Regions from separate parts of the Homo sapiens genome. Here regions 1, 3 and 4 are each linked to region 2. Evidence: promoter capture Hi-C in human tissues and cell types (Jung and others, 2019). All regions are on one chromosome and are shown on one strand. The core of a region is centred on a gene start or on the middle of the fragment in contact, and the rest is flanking DNA. Distances in the headings are between cores, read along the strand shown.

The links. Contacts are between HindIII fragments. The study calls those that stand out against the background at their distance.
Region 1: a contact is called between a fragment that was not itself captured here and the fragment with the promoter of NRP1 in region 2, in 1 of the 25 tissues and cell types used here (dorsolateral prefrontal cortex).
Region 3: a fragment that was not itself captured here is called in contact with the fragment with the promoter of NRP1 in region 2 in 1 of the 25 tissues and cell types used here (mesenchymal stem cells).
Region 4: a contact is called between a fragment that was not itself captured here and the fragment with the promoter of NRP1 in region 2, in 1 of the 25 tissues and cell types used here (aorta).

The regions. Positions count from the first base shown.
Region 1 is chr10:34,015,205-34,017,904 of GRCh38, forward strand. No RefSeq gene overlaps it. Among named protein-coding and RNA genes, the nearest start is that of LINC02629, 110 kb to the left of the region's middle. The HindIII fragment of the contact is 3,714 bases long and covers 1-2,700 here.
Region 2 is chr10:33,333,409-33,336,108 of GRCh38, forward strand. It overlaps NRP1 (neuropilin 1), which reads right to left and starts at 1,259. Exons shown (of 17, transcript NM_003873.7): 1 at 902-1,259. The coding sequence starts at 974. The HindIII fragment of the contact is 10,676 bases long and covers 1-2,700 here.
Region 3 is chr10:33,978,237-33,980,936 of GRCh38, forward strand. No RefSeq gene overlaps it. Among named protein-coding and RNA genes, the nearest start is that of LINC02629, 75 kb to the left of the region's middle. The HindIII fragment of the contact is 8,076 bases long and covers 1-2,700 here.
Region 4 is chr10:33,897,912-33,900,611 of GRCh38, forward strand. No RefSeq gene overlaps it. Among named protein-coding and RNA genes, the nearest start is that of LINC02629, 4.9 kb to the right of the region's middle. The HindIII fragment of the contact is 4,892 bases long and covers 1-2,700 here.

The DNA.
Region 1 (2,700 bases), core at 140-2,639, 680 kb after region 2:
CTGATGTTATAGATGGGTCTCCCGTAGGTGTTAGAGTTTGCAACCCCTGGTCTAAGGTCCTCATAAGGGTGGTCTGTAGATCCTATGTCAACCCTTGTTTCTAGCCTGGGACTGCTCCTAGAATCAAGTTTGAGGGGTACGTTGGACATGGTGGCTCATGTCTGTAATCCCAGCACTCTGGGAGGCCAAGGTGGGAGAACTGCTTGAGTTCAAGAGTTTGAGACCAGCCTGGGCAACACAGAGAGACCATATCTCTACAAAAAAAAAAACAACAAAAAAACACAAGAAATTAGCCAGGCATGGTGGTACATATCTGTGGTCCCAGCTACTTGGGAGGCAGAGGTTGCAGTGAGCCAAGATCACACCACTATACTCCAGTCTGGGCAACAGAGAAGAACCTATCTCAAAAAAAAAATGTGAGGGGTGAACTAATTGGATCATGGCCTTCCTTGTCTTCCTTTCATAACAGCCCTCATCTTCACATTTACCCCACAATGCCCTCAGGGCTCTGCTGAAAAATCCTTCCATGTGATGTGCCCTGCTCCTGTCTCACCAAAATGTACCTGCCTTCTAATGCAAGCTGGGTGATTAATACGTATTCAAATGTTAATGAATTAATAATGATAATATTTCCTGCATGGGTATAGTATGACAAATCTGTGTCAAGAATGATGCTGTGTGCACACACATACACTCACACATCACAGCAGACATCACAAATTAGTCACCATTCTCTTTCCAGCTAGGTCTAAATAGAGGTCAATACAGCACTTCAGGAAGCCACAGCCAGTGGCTTGGAGCTCCATTGCAGCAGGTCCCCACACCCTCCACAGTGCACTGGTGGCACCCACATCTCACCGCTGGAGTCTTGCTGCTGAAAAGCATAGTGGACAGAAGAGGGATGACCATTACCATTTTGAAGATGAGAAAACAGATTCTGAAATATTTGTCCCTAGCAAACATCAAGGAAGATAAAGGTATTTGAGGTACATTTAAAATCCTGCCCCGGGTAGTGGGGGCAGGGTGTCAAAACCTGCTCCTCTACGAGAAGGGAGAGGGGTGACTTAAATAACAGCTCACCAGGAAAAGATTTATGGCTTTAGTTGATCTTAACTAAAAAGGAATGAAAATATGACATGCCTCTTGTGTCTATCTGGAGGTGTGAGGCTGCCGCTCAGGGCATCTATGGTGGGAACTGGGAACCTTCTGGTTGCTTCCATTTAAAAGAAACAAACATGTGGGGGAACCAGCAGCAAAGGATGAGAAGGAAAGTTGAAGGGATCAAGGGGGCCTCCGTTAGAAAAGAGAAGAGGTGGGAATCTCATGGGAGACACCAGAAAGCTGACTTGGACTCAATAAAGCAAGGATGTTTAAATGAATAAGGTTGCTCACTTTGCAAGCCCTGTTATTGCAAACATTCCTCTGGGTAAGGAGAATCACAATGTGGGTCTAAGATTCTTTTCATCTCTAATATTCTAGGCTTTCATAGAAAAGTCGCTTAGCTGGGAAGGCCTGAAGCCAAATTTGCTGACACCTGCTCTGACACATGGCCCCGTTCTCTAAGTCCTCTCAGATGATGTATTTGCATTTTAACACAGAACATCAATGCCTTAGAGCAAAGGAATGCATAATGTGGTGAATTTCAGCAACCTGACTGCTGGAGCCATTCCATTTCTATTTTTATTGTATAGGGTGAGTTATCCCCAACACTCATATTATTCCACAGAGCATTGCCTTCTTAACCTATATATAAGCTCAATCCTGCTGACAAAACTCTATAAAATGTCCAGGGATATTTTCTTCTGAAAGAAAAAAAAAAAAAAAGAGGCTGGGTGCAGTGGCTCACGCCTGTAATCCCAGCACTTTGGGAGGCCGAGGAGGGTGGAGCACCTGAAGTCAGGAGTTTAAGAGCAGCCTGACCAACATGGTGAAACCCAGTCTCTACTAAAAACACAAAAATTAGCCAGGTGTGGTGGTGGGCGCCTGTAATCCCAGCTACTTGGGAGGCTGAGGCAGGAGAATTGCTTGAACCCAGGAGGCGGAGGTTGCAGTGAGCCAAGATCATGCCATTGCACTTCAGCCTGGGCAACAAGAGTGAAACCCCATCTCAAAAAAAAAAAAAAAAGGATTAAGGCAAATCTACATAATCATCTGCATGAACTGTACCTTTTTGGATCTTTAGTTATTTGTTGAGTTTTGTGTCAACAAATAACCCACCTGCATGAGCCCTGCTCTTCCTCTGGGGCACCTGAGGCTTGGAGGAGTGGAATCCAGGAACTAGGGGGCGCTGTGTATGGGGAGGAGAGAATCAGAAAACAGACTGTTACAGAGAAGGGGTCCTCTAGACTGTGAAGCCAGCCAAGGCCTCTCACCAGACAGACAGCAAGACCTGGGTCTAAGAAGAGTTGACCCAGAAGGCACACAAGAAGCAGGTGACCAGAGGTACCAACAACAGCACACAAGGGCTTTAGGGGTTAAGATACAGCGGCCAGGGATGGTTAATGGGAACAAAAAAAAAGGAGTTAGAAAGAATGAATAAGATCCACGCTTTGAGAGGACAGCAGGATGACTATTGTCAATAATAGCTTAATTGTACATTTTAAAATAACTTGGTAGGGGTGTTCAATCTTTTGGCTTCCCTGGGCCACATTGGAAGAAGAATTGTTTTGGGCCACACATAAAATCCATGAACACTAATGA
Region 2 (2,700 bases), core at 9-2,508:
TCTTATTAAAACAATATACCACAGTAAGTAGTGGATGTTCTTTTCTTCTAATTACTGTGATTGAAATCTAAGCCAGACAAAAGTAAATATTTGATCATTAGTTAATAACAATTGCTGACGACTTACTGTAAAGATAATTGCATACCCTTGCCTGCACTTACTTTACAGTGTGAAGTCAAACATGCCTACAACCAGATCCCATTTTAAAACACATTATTTAGGTTACATGGTACTGTTTAGACCCCAGTATAGTTTTTCATTTACTTAACAGTGAGTGATTTTAAAAGCTAAGTGGAAGCTGCAACTAGCTTAGGGATTTTCAGATATCCTGGTGCCTTACACTGTATATGTCAGATTCCTGTATTGATACTATGTAACTTTCAGTCATACTCCAGACAGATTACGGAAGGTGTACAAAGGCGGGGGAGGGAGTTTCATCAACCCACAAACCGATATCTCTGGCCGTCACCCACCAGAGGAAACGGCTTAGGGGAGCAGCAAAGGAACCAGGAAGTAAGATCTCCTGGTAAAGTGTTCATTAACTTTCAACAGCCATCAGATTTTTGAAAGGGAGTCTCTTCTAATTGCCTTTGGGAGGAAACATTATTAAGATAATTGGCATGCTGATCTGGGAAGGTAGACAGCTCTGTCTTGTAACAGAGGTAAGGAAAAGCCCCACAGCCCAAGGATCAACGTCAGGAGGGAGCCCAAAGACCTGAAATCCTCCTGCTCTAAACCGCCTGATCTCATTTCTTCTTCTCTCCTCCCAGATAAAAGTTTCCTTCGCCCGGGAGTCGGTTGTTCCCGGCTGATCCCGGGAAGCCCCGCCTGAGCCCCGGTCCGGGGCGGGCAGCTGGGAGCCGGGGCGCCGCTGTCACCCGCGCCTCTGCCTGTCACTTACCGTTGCGAAAAGCGCCGGCCGGGGCGAGGACGAGGGCGAGCACGGCGCAGAGGAGCGGCAGCCCCCTCTCCATTCTCCCTTCTCCGGGTCCGCAGGCAGACGCGGGAGAACGAGGACGTGGGGGGAAATGCAGCAAAGAGGAGAATCTAAGCGATCCGAAGAGCCCCAACTCCGCCTAGAGCTGTACAATCCTCAGCCCGTCTTGGAGAAAAGAAAGCAGCGAGGCAATGCCTGGATCCGAGAGGAACGCTTCTCTTTTTGTGTCTCAAGTCGCCTGCATCCTGTCATTTAGCTCCGGCTTCCTCTCCCTTTTCCCACACTTGTTCCTCTTCCAGGAGCCACTGCCCGGGCCATGTCTCAAAAAAAAAAAAAAAAAAAAAAAAGGCCGGGGGGGGGCTGTGGGTGGGAGGGGGAGGAGGGAGGTAGGGCAACACACACCAAAGCCAATTTCCAGGAAGAAAAAAAAAAAATCCGGCTTGTTTCTGGACCCGTTGGAGCCGCGGAGCTGGCGCCCAGGGGAGGTCCGGGTGTCTGCGGGAAGGAGGGGAACGAGCAATGAAAAGATGAGCGGGAGACAGAGGAGTTTCACCAACTGCACCCCCGCCTCCCCTCCTGCGGCCTCCCCCCACTCCGGAGCCCTTCCCTCGCTTCCTCCCGCCCCTCTCCCCGCTTGGGCTCGCCTGTAATTGCCTGACAGGAGACTGGGAGGAACAACTTTCCCTCCGAGTGCTCTCCCCGTCCGTCTGTCTGTCTTTCCCAGAGACCCTGCAGGGATCTCCGCGGGAAGGAAGGCGCTGGGAGTCTGCGCCCCGGTCGCGTGGGTGCGGGCGTCGGAGGAAGGGGCGCGGAGGTCAGTGCCAGCCGCAGGGTCTGGCCAGCCCACCTCGCGTGCTCGCTCTGCACCCCTAGAGGGAGAGCTGGGCAGCTCCTGCAGGCGCAGATCCCGCCGCCGCGCAGTGCGGAGCGCCCGGGAGGTGGCGGCTGCTTCTCGCAACTTCAAATCCCGGGGCCCGCGCCCTCGGCGGCGAGGAACGCAGGGTCACCCCCTGCCACTCCTCATCGCGCCATCCTGAGACCTGTGGCGGGGAGCAGCGGGGCACCCCTGGACGCCCCTGCCCAGAGCTGGAGGGCGAGGAGGGGAAAGCCGGGCTGGAGTGGGAGCCGCACCGCGAAGCCGGGCGAGGGGCAGCAGTGTCGCTGTGGTGTGAAGCGAAGACAGACCGCCTGGGCGGGCGAGGCCGGGCTGCAGCCCCACGCGGCCTCCCTGGCCCGCATCAGGGCGCGCGGCTGGGTGCCCTCTGCGCGCCGCGGAGGCTTCATTGTTTCCCGAGATTTGGTGCCCGTTCCTCTGGGGCAGAGGGAACACCGGAGGGTGGGAGGTGCTGCGCCTTCCAAGCAGGGGGGCAATCGCCGCCCGACCCCGCCCAACCTTGTCTGGGAGCCCAGGTGCTAGGGAGGGGTGTGGAAATCAGGGGTCGGGCGGCCCCCGTTTCTCTGTGCATCCCGAGGGAGGGAAAGAGTGGCGGGGGAGGGGTGCTCTTCGCTGCGCCCTCTCAGTGTCCGCTCCCGGCCACAGACAACGTGCACGCCGGCCCTGGAGCTCCTGCCACCCCCACTTCCCACAGCGGCTCGTGCCCCCAGCCCGCTGGATGCCCCCCAGGCCCGTCCCCGAGGGTTTTCCGAGAAGTGCTGCAGGAAGCGTTTGTAGATGCGAAAAGCAAGGACATTTCTGGGAAGAAACAGGTTGCGGTCACCGATCAGGCCCCGGAGAAGGGTCAGTGCCCACGGGGCACCTCCCA
Region 3 (2,700 bases), core at 1-2,500, 640 kb after region 2:
GTCACACACTTAGTGAGAGCTCCTCACCAAAGAACACCTATTAAGAATCCACCTGCACATATGGCTCTATAGAGCACAAAACAAAGCTCACCTGTTTCTGAGGAAACCGAAATGTCAGTGCCTGCAAATAATATACTGTGCAAAGATCATATTTTGTTCATGTGGAATTCAGTTTTCATGTACAGAGTAAATTTTTAATGAAATATTTTTCTTCTCTCTACACAAATATCATTCCCAGAATATTCTTCAGAGACAAAAAGACATATAATCTTCAAACTCAAATCCTTTTTTTTCCAATTCAAGTTGCACTCAGATTAAGATCTAGGGGTTTTGTATATTAATAAACTGACTGTGTATCTAACAATGACTCTAGTTACCTGTGGCAGCTTGGTTAATGCTTTAGTACTTCTTCATTAGGAAAGATTTTTTCTGATTTGGGAGCAAGTCAGGGAGTCAGTGTGAAACACAGCTCCAACCTAGAGAAAGACCCACCCGCTAAGAGGTCATGGAGATGACTCAAGTCTCAGTACCAAGGAAAAGGATTAAAATGGTCCACCCATGAAAATCTCTTCCATCCCTTCCTCAATCTCCTGCAGAGAATGCAGCCTCAAGCCCTTGAGATACTGAGAGGGAAAAATATTCTCTCTCCAATATTTCTGTGAAAGACTGTTGTAAGGCAAGAAGAAATCACCTGCTCCTGTGGGAATTCATGGCAAAGAATTCAGTATACACCAAATTATCCATGTGCACTGCAAAAAAGAAGTGGAGAAAAATGTACATCCCTTTGCTCCTGGTCTCCAAGCCCCTTTCTTGCTCCAAATACATCTCCTTTCTTGACCTCTAAAACTTGCCTTAAGTACTCAGCCCCAGTTTGGTCTATATCAACCTGTCCATCCAACTATCTTTACCTCTTCTGAAAGATGCCTCAACAGATTCCTCACCTCTTTCATTGCCAATATTTCCAACGTTTGCTCCTTTGATTAAAATACTCTAAGGCCTGTGTTCTCTCAGTTCTTTGTTTTGTTGAATACATCACGCATCCATACAGAACTGAATAGGGTTGAGGTATTAATGGAGCCCATCACAGCTAACTCCTATGTGCAGCTCCCTTGCAGCCTCCACTCCCGCTCAGTAGCACAGCTCTCATGCTGTGCTTTGCCTGGGAACAGACATTGTTAGGACAGACAGAGGCGTCCCACAGGCAGTCCATCCAGGGCCCAGGTTTGTGCCAGGTGTAGCACTGGCCAACCGGGTCAGTAGTAAATTGCTAACCAAAGTGGCTTTCTTGGGATTCAAACTGGGCATACAGAGAACGGTCAGTTTGTATCCAAGTAGAATAGAACAAAACAAGGAAATACATCATGACAAAGAGACTGCATTGATCCAAAGAGGGCAGAGAGAGTCGTCAGATCCTTGATCTATCTCCAAGTCCAAGGCTCCAATTCTAGTCGGCATCTATCTTGAGTGAGTCTGTTGGTTAAAACAGAAAATGCCTAAATAAGTACTAAACCATCCATTTTCTCTCCAATTTTACCTCCTTCTCCTCTCCCCCCACACCCAAGGATCCCAACACCATTCTTCATGACTCTAGAATCTTCTGCCTCCCTCTACCCCTGCTCCTTCGGCAAATGCATCTCCCCCTACCCAACCACAGAGACAGCTAAGGCAATAGTCCTATACCATCTGTTGAATGCAGAAGAAACGTTCTAAAGTCACTTTAGTTAAAAAGCATTGGCTAGTGTGTAAGAACAGTTGGAAGAAAAATGTCTGAAATATAGAGGAGAAGCAAATTTTTGGAGACTATATCCAGGAAGAAAGCAGAGACCAGAACAAGTGAACATGTGTTAGCATCATCAGTTTCAGAAAGCAGTTTAAGCAAAAGACAAAGACTGGGGGTAAGAACAAACAATTAAATATGGTTCAAAGCTGTCTTTGGAGGCCCGTGGAAAATGGGAATGAGAATCCAAGCAGCCTTTTTGGAAATGTGATATGTAAGTGAAGATGGCTTTAAATGATGACAATTTTCACCTCACTGAGGGTAACTGGCAGATTTTTTTTCCTCTGGCAAACTTCATTTTTATGTTTATTCCTGGTTCCTGACATCTGATTAAGAGCAATGAAATCAACCCATCTTAGATCACGTTTAAGTAGCACTTAGCATTATGCTAGTCTGCAATTGGGGACGGGGACCGTGTTTACCACACCAGTGACAGAAATCCAGCTTGCTTTGCCATACCATTGCAGTGTAGTCCATTTTGTAAAGGATAGAGCCAGTAATTAACTCAAAGGGGGAACGAAACTTGTGTTTTATAGTAAAATAAATGCCTTTTAATCTTTTTAAGCCAAAAAGACTCATTCCCAAAAACCATTTAATTTGATTTCAACTCTGAAAAATCATCCCATAATCACCGCATTTTCTCCTTGCCCCTGGAAGATGGTACTTTTAGCTAAAAGCCAAAGTAGGCACTTTGATTCCTCAACCCAAGTCCTTATACCCTGTGTTTCAGCCAGCACACAGTCCATGCACCATGCTCTGAGGGTGTCTCTTCATCACTTTCCCTGCCACAGTATATGTCATCATCAGCAAAATTCCTGGACACCAGGAAGATCCCACAGATTAAAATTTTATTCTCTGTAGAATGCAAGTATTTGAATTAAAGGGAACCACACAAAGTGGGTTTGGCGTTAAAATCATCATGA
Region 4 (2,700 bases), core at 54-2,553, 560 kb after region 2:
GCTGAAGCCCTACAGCAAAGGGTGGTGGTAGGATTAATTTAATGACCAAACTGTCAACCTCTTGAAATAAGTATGGGCATGTTTCTAGTGCTGGAAAGACCAAAAGTGCTTCATGAAAGGCGGCTAGGCATGGGGAGTGGGGTCAGCTGGTGACACTTGACTTGGAGAGTATCACTGTCCCTGGCCAAAGCCCTCCAAGGTCTTTAACTATTAAATAAAGGGGTTCGGAGTGCTCTGATGTTAATTTGTTTCTTGCTACCTCCTAAAACTGTGGGTAAGGTGAATACATTTGTTTAGAATGCCTCTTAGCTAGTGAGCCAGGCCATCTGTAAATAGGAAAGTTTTCTTGCACAGGAAAGTCTACCTTATCAAGTTGCTTTAAAGAAGAGAGTCAACATGCTTGTGTTGGAAAAGCAAGTGGTAGACTTTTGAAACCAGCCCAATTGTCCCACAGAACTGATGTTTCAGTCTCATTAAATGAACATAGAAATTGGCCCTCCTGGTCTTAAAGCTTGAAACTTGCATTCATCTTATGTGAGTTCCCCCCTCAGGAAACCTACTCTCAGTCCTCCCAGATGGTATCAAGGAACTGAAGCTCACCAGATCACCACATGCAGACCATAAGAAGCCAGAACCCTCATCCCTCTTTTTTTTTCTTTTTTTTTTGAGACAGAGTCTTGCTCTGTTGCCCAGGCTGGAGTGCAGTGGTGCAGTCTCAGCTCACTGCAACCTCCACCTCCCTGGTTCAAGCGATTCTCCTGCCTCACCTTCCCAAGTAGCTGGGGTTACAGGCGCCTGCCATCACGCCTGGCTAATTTTTTGTATTTTTAGTAGAGATGGGGTTTTGCCATATTGGCCAAGCTGGTCTCCAACTCCTGGCCTCAAGCTATCCACCCACCTCAGCTTTCCAAAGTACTGGGACTGTGCCGGGTCCCTCATTATTTTCTTACCCCTCTGTAATTCTTGTTTACCTGTATATAGTTATATTTTATCCCTGCTATATAAACCCCTACTTGTAGTTGGTCAAGGAGATGGATTTGAGACTGAGCTCCCAGCTCCTCAGCTGCAGCACCCTATTAAATCCTTCTTCCCTGGCAGTCCTCATTGTCTCAGTGATTTGCTTCCTGTGCAGCCAGCAGCAGGACCTAGACCAAACTCCTGGTGTGTCAGTAACACTTTCACTCCATGTCAGATTTAGCATTGCTTGTTATGGTTTATGTATTGATTAACTGAAGAAAACTTGGTGATCACTTCTTTTATCCAACAAAAATATCTCTATTCATGCTTTCCATTCACATCCTGCAAAGGCACTACCCCTCTTCTCCTACCCAGAGGCCCATCTCCAACCTTTCATCCCTCAGTCTTTGATCTCCTTCCCTGCCCTCATCACATTTTTGGAAACAACCAAAGGGAAGCTTTGAGCTAAGGAAGAAGTTTCTAAGGCCTTGGAAATGCAGCAGAGGTCAAATCTATTCTGGGGCCCTTACCTTGAGGGCCTGGCATGGGAGAGAGGAAGTTTCCACTGCTCCCTCCTGGCTACGATGCCCTTTCTCCCTTCTCTTAGGGGTTAATCACTTTTAAAGTGAGAAACTTATAGAATTGAAATAATGTGGGGCCATATTTTAAAAAGCATTAGCACAGACAATGTCTTAATTTTAAAAACTTCAAGTGAGATACATGTATATGTGGTAGAGATGACATTGTTTAAATATAAACTTCTTCTTGTTGGACGATTTTGCTAGAGCAGAACGTTGTATGGAACAGATCTTCAGAGAGCATCCTCCAGTTGGACAGACAGCTCTTCTTCAGCCAACTATGACAGTAATAATAAAGGGTGCAGTTCTGTGCTGTGGGAAAAGGCAAAGTAAACAAAAAAGTGCACTATGTTCCTTACAGAGCTTTGCTTTGAAACATGACCCATCATCATTGCAAAGGAGGGAAATAATTTCCCACCCTTCAGAAACCTCCCTCATTTGAACTTAAAATTAGGAAACAATGAGCTTTTCTGATTTTAATTTTACTTTGTCAAATAAATAAATTTGTCCAACAGGGCAAAGGGACGACGTGATTACAAACAAAACCACATTGAACTGGCCATGTGAAGTCTCAGGACTCCATGAGTCAGCTCCTAAAGCTTTATGATCCAGCTTTCCTTACCTGCAAGGTGAGATTCCAAAAGCTGACGTCCCATACATTGAGAAAAGTTCTCCAGTAACAACCAAAAGAAAGTTTCTGAACTTTGTGAATACATAGTTCAAATCACAGCATTTATACTACTTTAAGGAACTTTCTTAAGAGACTCATGTTTTTAGCTTTGGCCCTCCTGCTAATTTTTTTCTAAGAAGAATTGCAACAGAAGACAATAGGATTAAAAAACAAAATATTTTCCAAATCCTAGAGCCAACATAAATATGGTGTGTGTGATGTGTGGCAGGATGAGAGGAAAAAAAGGTCATTTGGACCTGCTCCAGACCCTTTGGCCAACCTAGAAGGTTATTTTACCAGTCCAGGGGAAATGGCAGAGTTTACCCCAGAATCAATACTGGGGTCAGAAAACAAAAAAAGCACTGCAAAAAAAATAATAATCCTTTAATTTTTGCTGTGAAAAATGAACACTTCTTTTCTCTATATTAAGCATACAGCAAAAAGTAATTAGTTAATGAATTATATGTTTATGAATTAAAAGGAGTTTTTGTATGT